2 separate regions of the Homo sapiens genome follow, and region 2 is linked to region 1. The links are contacts of gene promoters, found by promoter capture Hi-C in human tissues and cell types (Jung and others, 2019). All regions are on one chromosome and are shown on one strand. Each heading gives the region's core, a stretch centred on a gene start or on the middle of the fragment in contact. The rest is flanking DNA. Distances are from core to core; before and after follow the strand shown.

Region 1 (4,836 bases), core at 1,543-4,042:
ACTGCTCACCTCCAGACACCACGTATGAAGGAAAGAAATACACCTCTTAGATCCAAGCCACTGTGATTTCTGGTCTCTGTTACTTGCAGTTTTGTGCAATTCTCAACTGATAAACTTTCTCTTAAGTGTGTGATGACAATGAAATTAGATGATGTTTATAAAATATGTCAATGTGCCATTGCATCAAAAGTCCTCATGGTAGTACTGTCTCTCACCTCTGAGCAAAGCCATCGAACAAATTTTTACAATTCACCATAATCACAAAGCATTTACTCAGGAAATGTTTTAACGTATGTACAGGCTGGGGGCGGTGGCTCACACCTGTAATCCCAGCACTTTGGGAGGCCCAGGAGGGTGGATCACCTGAGGTCAGGAGTTTGGGACCAGCCTGGGGAACACGGTGAAACCTCATCTCTACTAAAAATACAAAAAATTAGCTGGATATGGTAGCACATGCCTGTAGTCCCAACTACTCGGGAGGCTGAGGCAGGAGAATTGCTTGAACCCAGGAGGCGGAGGTTGCAGTGAGCTGAGATCATGCCACTGCACTCCAGCCTAGGTGACAGAGTGAAACTCCGTCTCCAAAAAATTAGCTGGGTGTGGTAGCGGGTGTAGTCCCAGCTACTTGGGAGGCTGAGGCAGGAGAATCTCTTGAACCTGGGAGGCGGAGGTTACAGTGAGCTGAGATTGTGCCATTGCACTCCATCCTGGGCGACAACAGCGAAACTCCATCTCAAAAAATAAAAAAATAATAAAAACAAAAATAAAGTATCTAAAGAGTTACCAAATACATATATGTCTCCAAAAGGCATTTATTGCTAATATTCTGCTAATATTAGAACACACTGGGATCAAATAAAAAATTACCCAAAGAGGGGAGGAAAAAGTCACTTGTTTTCTAAACTAGGTTGATTTTATTTCATGGGTAAACTTGAGTGGTGTTGGGAAATTGTGACCTCAGTGTGCTACTTTCCTACTGGAAAATAAGACCTCAAAACCTCTCCAAACTAGTCACTTCATCTTACTTATGAGAGGCACGACAAAATGGATACTTTTCACCAAAATTCTCCTGTGTTCTACATTGCAAAATCAATATATTTTAGAGGAAGAAGAAGCTTTCAAACTTCAGTTCTTCCAAAGGCATAGTTGGTGCAGGGGGTGGGGTGAGGGTGGAAAAAAAGGGCTGGTGGTGAGGTGTGGCTCCGAGGAGCAAGTCAGCCCTCGCCCCGCCACCGGAACAGCGTTCAGTGCCCGTCACTTGTAACACTGGTCTTCCCAATGCATAGCCCTTGAAGATAATCAGGGCCGGGTGGGTCCCCGGTGTCAGGGGAATTTGCCAAGAGGGGGAAGAAACAAACGTACAGGTTTACCTGCAACAGAGAAAGTCCTCATTCCCACCCTATTAGGATACAGAGTTTTCAACAACAGGATTCCTTTGGTGGAGCAAGTTGCAGGGCACAGGGCTGTTGGCAGGAGATTATCAGGATTGTAGCGTTCACATCTGTACCTTGGAAAGGGGCTTACTCTCCAAGTCATTAAAAGGACACTCAAACACAAACTCAAAGTTAGTTAGCATATATATGAAATGTATTTTCTTGGTAGTCTCTAGAGTTTCAGCCAAAAGCTACATGAAGAAAGAAGAGAACAACATGTTTGAGAGATGGAGATGAGGAACATTATTGAGAGATAGAGCTTGCAATCTTAACTCAGCAATGGAATGCTGGAAAGGCTGAATTGACATACTCTGTTCTTTGGTTCCGTATGTCTTTTTTTTTTTTTTTTTTTTTGAGACAGAGTCTTACTCTGTTGCCCAGGCTGGAGTGCCGTGGTGTGATCTTGGCTCACTGCAACCTCTGCCTCCCGGGTTCAAGCGATTCTTCTGCCTCAGCCTCCTGAGTACCTGGGATTACAGGCACCCACCACCATGCATGGCTAATTTTTTTGTATTTTTAGTAGAGACGGGGTTTCACCATCTTGGTCAGGCTGGTCTTGAACTCCTGACCTTGTGATCCACCCACCTCAGCCTCCCAAAGTGCTGGGATTACAGGCGTGAGCCACCGCACCCGGCTGGTTTCCTGTGTCATTCTAAATCCTTTCTAACCCAGTAAGAGGATGGATGGATGGATGGATGGATGGATGGATGGATGGCAGATGGATGATCAGTTAGACCAACTCAGGAAAATAGGGAATAACATGGAAAAGAATGCTTCGCGTCCCTCACTATAAGTTCCTAAAAAGCTACAATGGGAAAGTAATCCATGACCTACCTTCACAAAACCTGGTGAGAAACTGATAGATTGGGGATTTTCCCTGAACTCAGATGGAGTTCAAGCTTCATTAAAACAAATTCTAAAGGACTGATTGACATTTTATTCTATTGTATTTTGTTATACTGATTGTTTTTTAACCAGAAATAATTGGGCCACAGTAGATCTTTTTTAAACTGAGTTTTGTGTGTGATGTGTGATGTAATTTGTTTTGCAATATCCAAGGAAATTTTCATGCTCCATTTGCCTTCGGCCACAAACTAACAGTCAATGCCCCACCCCACCCTCTACAGCAGCAGGAAAAAATAAGTCCAGATCAATGTTGCCCACAAATTTCTCACCTCTGTATATTCCTTGGACAGTCTTCCAATTTCAGGCTCTTTTGCTCCCCTCACCGTGGCCAAGTCTTAGACGGAAATTGGAGCACAGATGGCTTCTCAGGGGTGGCCAGACTTGTGTTCCCAAGACGCCTGGCTCCCTGGTCTTATCCTCTCCTTTCAGGTCGGGTCTCAGATCAGGATTCTTTAAGGGCCAACTTCGCATTCTGGGCAAGTGAATGACACCTAGGGCACACCCTCTTCTCAGCAGCCTGCACTTGATCTCCTTTTAAAGGGGAAATTACATTTCTTGTTAAGACTGAAAGAGGCTGCCGAACTTTGGAGGAAATTACTATGTTGTTCTCAGGACAGCTGGAAGAATTTCTGAAAGAGAAGACCTAGGCAAGGGGCAGAGGGAAGCTTTGCCCTTGCAAACATTTGCTCACAGCCATTGCTTAGAATTAAGGAGCAGGTTCATGCCCATCCTGTCAGCCATATCCTGCAGGGTGGCAGGCATGCTGTAGCCCCTGGTATAGGCCATGGTGCCTGCCACCCTGAAGCTGCCTGTGCTGTACAAGAGCAGCCTTTGCTATGCCAGGAGTCACTGAGTGGCCAGGCCATGAGCCTGTCTTGGGTCAACTCTGTGGGCCTCAATGTCCCTGCTTCTGTTCGTTATTCCCATACAGACATCAATGTGCCTGACTTCCCTGATTACTGTTGCATTGAGATTTTTGATGGGACAAAGTCTTCAAAAGAGGATGGCGAGGCTAGGAAAGGGTTCTCCTATTTGGTAACTGCAACAACTGCTGTGGGTGTCACATATGCTGCCAAGAATGTCATCTCCCAGTTTGTTTCCAGCATCAGTGCTTCTGCTGATGAGTCGGCCGTGTCGAAAATTGCAATCAAGTTATTTGATATTCCAGAAGGCAAGAACATGGCTTTCAAATGGAGAGGCAAATCCCTGTTTGTATGCCACAGAACCAAGAAGGAAATTGACCAAGAACCTGCAGTTGAAGAGTCCCAGCTGAGGGCCCATAGCATGATTTAAGGGCCAGGCACAGTGGCTCATGCCTGTAATTCCAGCACTTTGGAAGGCCGAGGTGGGCAGATCACTTGAGGTCAGGAGCTCAAGACCAGCCTGGCCAACATGGCGAAACCCCATCTCTACTAAAAATACAAAATTAGCCAGGCGTGGTGGCATGTGCCTGTAATCCCAGCTACTCGGGAGGCTGAGGCAGGAAAATCACTTGAACCTGGGAGGCAGAGGTTGCAGTGAGCCGAGATTGCACCATTGCACTCCAGCCTGGGCAACACAGTGAGAATCTGTCTCAAAAAAAAAAAAAAAAAAGAAGAAGAAGAAGAAGTAAAGGATGGGCCGGGAGTGGTGGCTCACACCTGTAATCCAAGCACTTTGGGAGGCCAAGGCGGGTGAATCACTTGAGGTCAGGAGTTCAAGACCAGCCTGGCAAACATGGTGAAACTCCGTCTCTACTAAAAATACAAAAATTAGTCAGGCGTGGTGGTCCATGCCTGTAATCCCAGCTACTCGGGAGAATGAGGCAGGAGAAGTGCTTGAACCTGGGAGGCGGAGGTTGCAGTGAGCCAAGATCGCGCCACTGCACACTCCAGCCTGGGAGAGAGAGTGAGACTCTGTCTGAAAAAAAAAAAAAAAAGATAAAAAAGGAGTAAAGAATGAGTGCAATGCCTATCAGGGTAACCCATTCGAGTTTCTTTACTAGGCGTTTGCATTCATCCTGTTGTACACCTATTGCAAATGAAGATTTTGGTGGTGATTACTGCCCTTGCTGGGGGTCACACAGATGCATCTGGGAGGATCTGGAAGGGGCCTGCCCCTCTTGAGCTTGGAGCTCCCTCATATGGGTTCACCAGTGAGGACACAGTCATTGTTGGTTAGAGACTGGGACTCAAGTTGTAGGCTCCTTTCAGTCTTTGCGTCACTGTAGAAGAGTTATTTGAGAGCAAGCCTTCTGAACTTCAAGTTGCTTGATTTGAAATATTTAAGAAGTGATAATGTATTTGCAAACATTACTGTGAAGTAAATTGAATTTAATGTTGAATACGTTCAAGCATTCACTTAATAAAACAACTGTTAAACACTGTTACACTGTCATACACTTGAAAGGTGCAATGTCTTTTAGGTAGTTCTAATTTTTTACTTTAAAAAAATTTTTTGTTTTTATTTTTTTGAGATGGTGTCTCGCTCTGTCTCCCAGGCTGAAGTGCAGTGGCGT
Region 2 (4,860 bases), core at 394-2,893, 33 kb before region 1:
TACAGTGCTGATTGGACAGAGGACCAGCCTTACAGACATTCTTTTTGGATAAGCTACTGCAGACCTCAGGTCAGTTTCAGCAGCTTATACAGAGAGTGCACAAACTGTTTGTTTTCTGTAGTTCACCTTTGACATAAAGAGCCAAATTCCACCTCATTTTAATGCTAAAACCCTGCCCCAAAGTGAACATGTGATGTATGTTACAAACGAGCTTACCTAGTCTGCATGTAGGATCCCCTCACAAACATGTATAGCTTTGCCCCCAAACCTGCCAAATATGTATGATGCCAGCCTTGTGAAACATAAAACCCAACCTGTCCTTCTCCTCTTCCAAGAGAAAGCAACTTCAATGCACACTGGAGACTGTCTCTTTCAGGCTTGCAAATCACTATTGCCAATAAAACTGTCCTTTCTATTATTTAGCCATCCTGGTGGTCTTTGGGACAACAAGTACTAGAGAGCTTTAAAAACGCAAAAAAGGAACCAGGGCTCCAAAGTTAATAAGAGGAGTTTTAATGAGGGAGATGGAACTAAGATAATATAATGGAAAAATAAAACATCTCGGGACTCCTAAACTCATTACACCAAAGAGGAGGTTAAGCCTGAAGACAGACTAATGCAACACTAGCCATCCTTGAATAGCTGTTGCTTTACAATCTTATGTCAAAGTATTATCCATCAGCCAGACCCCCCATGGAAAATTCTTTGCTGGTCTTGAAACCCTTCAAGATGCATATCCTCCTATAAAGCAAGGACATGTCCATTGTAACTTAGGTTTTCTATCTAAGTCTAGCTTCTACAACTAACATCTGTTAGATTTCACACTGATAATGTTGATTGCAAGCTCATCTTCCCAAGTGATGAGACTCATTCTTCCCAGAAGATGAGACCATTCTTCCACCTGCCCTGAGACATCTGCATAATTGATGCTTCCTTTACTCTCCCTTTTTTCTTCCAATGTTCACCTCATTTTATATAAAATGTAGATTTACTGGGCACTAATTAAAATCTCACAGACATGTAACCATTTGCCTCATTGGCTGGCTACCCACCTCTTCCTACATGCTTTCTTTCCTTTAAAAGAGAGTATAAATCCTGAGTCACCCGGAAACCTCTGCTTCAAGCCACAGATGTTTCCATAGCTGGTGTTCTTGAAACTGACACTGCAAAATTGTAACTGAGTCAGTGAAAGAGATCTGACCTAACCAACTCCATCTTGCTTCTAACCTCCAAACTGTCCTTGGTCATTCCTGGGTGTAGGCTGAACTAGCTTTGGGAGTAACTTACTTTATAGTTTAAAACAAAGATGATAACCGCCCTTTCCCAAAACCAACCTCCTTCTTGGCTAGGACTAGACTGCCTTTGTAGGACTAACAAATTAGCCACAAGATTAGAAATTGTGGTTTAGGAGTCACGCAGCTGGAGGTTACAAGATTCTGACCCTCCCTAAACTGTTCCTGAGATCAGTGCTTGAGATATTTTGCAGATGGTGCTCTTGATGGATCAGCTGGTACCACCCAGACCAATAAACTGGTTCATCTGATCTTGTGGCACCCACTCAGGAACTCACTCAGCGCAAGAGGAAAGCGTCAATTCCCTACTATTTCATCTCTAACCCACCTAATCAGCACTCTCGACTCACTGACCTTCCCCCACCCACCAAGTTGTCCTTAAAAACTCTGCTCCCCAAATGCTCAGGGAGACTGATTTGAATAACAATAAAACTCCAGTTGCCCACACAGCCAGCTCTGTGGGAATTACTCCTTCTCTATTGCAATTCCCCTGTCTTGAGAAATCAGCTCTGTCTAGTCAGCGGGCAAGGTGAACCCGCTGGGCTGTTACATTCTTCCCAGTCACACCCTCAAGCTCTAGCTCAATAAACCTCAGATGACTGAGATTTTTGCCTCAATATCTCATTTGGGTTAGCAAAAATCAGGGCAGATTTTTAGATGTGCTGCTGTGATTGGGCATACAACTGGAATCCAAACTTCCCAGCCTCCAAGACACAGAAAGAAACACAACTGGGCAATACCATGCATTATCTGAGAGAAGAACTCCAACCAGTTCCTCAAGTGAGGGAATTTTCCCTGGTGCCACCCCCAAAGATTAAAATTCACAGGTAAGATTTGGTTAACACAGTGAGTGACAGGGACATCCCCTTCCCCTGCCACCTTCCGGGGCTACTCCTTTGAGCACAGCCTTGTCAGTCTGGGGAGCAGGAGGAATTCTTCTGGAATTCTCCACCACCAGTTTCAGACTAGCTCTCACTGTCTTACAGAATTTGACCTCAAGGCCTCTGCCACCTGACTGCCATCCTCCACCCATCAGTCTACCTACCTCCCAGACACTCTCTTTAGTGAGGATTTTGAGCACCTGGGCTCACAGTTCTTCTATTAAGTCGTTGGGGCCCAGAAAGCGATACAACAAAGACTGGCCTTTTGACATGTGGAGAGGATAGAGGCAGCTGCATCAGAATCAAGGTCCCTCTAACCTTGTCTTGCTCCTTCGCCCTCAAGCACAGGGAAGGGCTCTCTGCAGTTTCCTTATCTGACCAAGAAAGCTTTGTTCCAAAAGGAATGCAACTGGGCCAGGTGTGGTAACTCAGTTTGTGATCCCAACACTTTGAGAGGCCTAGGCAGGAGGATTGCTTGAGGCCAGGAGTAGAGACTAGCCTCTTCAAATTAGCCAGGTGTGGTGACCCACATCCTAGCTACTCAGGAAGCTAAGGCAAGAGGATTATTTGAGCCCAGGAGTTCAAAGCTGCGGTGAGCTATGATCGCACCACCACACTCCAGCCCGGGCAAAAGAGGGAGACTCTGTTTCAACAAAACAACAACAATGACAACAAAAAAAAAGGGAACGCAATTATCTTAAACCTGCTCCCTAGGGATCATGTCAAATTACAAAGATCAGCCACCAGAAAAGAGAAGAGGCTGGGGGTATCACATTGCTCCAGACTTTTCACCTAGTCCTCTGAGGGCAGCTCCCAGAGATCACCTGGATAACAGAACAACCTTTGTTCCTGTGCAACTCCACCCCTCACCTTCCTGTAATGCGTGCCTCACTCCTCCCTGGTTCATTCATTCTCACTTATGACTTATTGCCCATCTAAAGAATCTTTGCCCACTGGCATCCTCCACTGTGTAAAAGGCTATATACGTTTCTGTCCCAAGCTGGGTTATTGGTAATCACTCTTGTGATTCCTTCCTGCTATGCCCATCAAAATAAAATTTTGTATGCCTTTTTTCCCCATGAATCTACCTTCTGTCAGTTGATTTTTTTAGTAAACCTTTGGAAGGTGAAGGGAAGTTTTCCCTTGGCACTTACAAAGTCCTGTCTTCATTAAAACCAGCTTCAATACCCAAGTAAATCAACCTTTCTCTCCCCACCTGCTGGTTCTTTGACCTCCTTGGCTGATGTTACTTCCTAAATATGTCCCAGAACACACACCCTCACTCTACCACTTATACCACAGCCCCTTTGAAACCATCTTTGCAAAAATTATAATAGAAAAAATTATGACAGTGAAAGAGATCTGCCCTAACCAAATCCATTTTGGCTTTAACTTCCAAACTGCCCTTGGTCATTCCTGGGCATGGGTCAAGCTAACTTTGGAAGAAATTTAGTTTACAGTTTAGATAACAGCTCTTCCCAAAACTAAACCACCTTTATAAAGTAATAAAAGGCCACCAGGTAGGATTATGAGAGGGGCCTGAATTCTGTTAAGATATAGGCTTAAAGGATTACCAGCCACTTTCCAGCCTTTGTTCTGTAGGTCACACGATTTGCGACTTCCCCAATTACTCCTGTAAATAACATCACTATTGTAGAACCTAAGATTGGCTTTTTGAGAAGTCTTTTCAGACTTTTGCATTTTTGACAACGGGATGACTCCACCCAGACCCATGACCCCTGACTCAACTGGTCCTGTGACCCATAAGCAGACTCAGCATACTTGGTCCATTTTCTACACCACTATGATTGCATCTCCAACCAATCAGAAATATCCATTCTCTAGCCCCCTGTCAACCAAACTATCTTTAAAAAATGCTTGCCTCCAAATTTTCAGGGAGGCTGATACAATAAAATTCTGGCCTCTGGTTTAGCCACTCTATGTCTATTAAACATGTTCTCTATTGCAATTCCTCCACTTGATAAGTTGGCTCTATTGGGGCACTAGGAAAGATGAACCCTAGGGCAGTTACACCCTCATTGACCTTCTACCCTGCAGCCTTATCTCCTTGGAGTTCTTAGAAAACTGACCACATCCTTCCCTGAAGCCTTCCAATGGCTCTCCACCCTCCACAGCATTCTAATATATCAGGAGCCTCTTTTAAGATTAAAAATAAATATTTTGCAAAGCTCTATGATAGAAGGTGAACTTTCATACCCATTTAATCAGAAATATATAATGACTATGAAGTCAATCATGCTATTATGTTGATTTTGGTTATAAGAAATGGCAAACTGAAAAACTGTAATATGTATTTGTATCACATATTTTTTGCATGGAGGGTTTATATGTGTTTGGCCCAATGTTGGGGAGCAGTGGCTATAGAATGCAATTCATGCTCAGCAGGTGGGGTGCTTCTGGCCCTGCCCACCTCTGCAGCTTCACCTCCCATCACTACCCCTTTCTCACTATTTAAACAACGTGATACTGCTTGTAGTCTTCTCAGCACACATGCATACACACATCCTTTTTGAAAGAATGGATATCTTCAATTCCACTTTGTAGCAAAACTTGATGTGCAACTCATAAGGCTATTTTTTCTTTTTTGAGATGGAGTTTCACTCTTGTCACCCAGGCTGGAGCGCAATGGCGTGGTCTTGGCTCACTGCAACCTCCTCCTCCCAGAT

What was found. Contacts are between HindIII fragments. The study calls those that stand out against the background at their distance.
Region 2: a fragment that was not itself captured here is called in contact with the fragment with the promoter of SVOPL in region 1 in 1 of the 25 tissues and cell types used here (spleen).

Annotation. Positions count from the first base shown.
Region 1 is chr7:138,698,570-138,703,405 of GRCh38, forward strand. SVOPL (SVOP like) reads right to left here and starts at 2,793. Exons shown (of 16, transcript NM_001139456.2): 1 at 2,609-2,793. It also overlaps the pseudogene UQCRFS1P2. The HindIII fragment of the contact is 2,573 bases long and covers 1,724-4,296 here.
Region 2 is chr7:138,666,585-138,671,444 of GRCh38, forward strand. All of the region lies in intron 4 of SVOPL (SVOP like), which reads right to left. Among named protein-coding and RNA genes, the nearest start is that of SVOPL, 32 kb to the right of the region's middle. RefSeq lists an enhancer at 1,415-1,996. The HindIII fragment of the contact is 8,522 bases long and covers 1-4,860 here.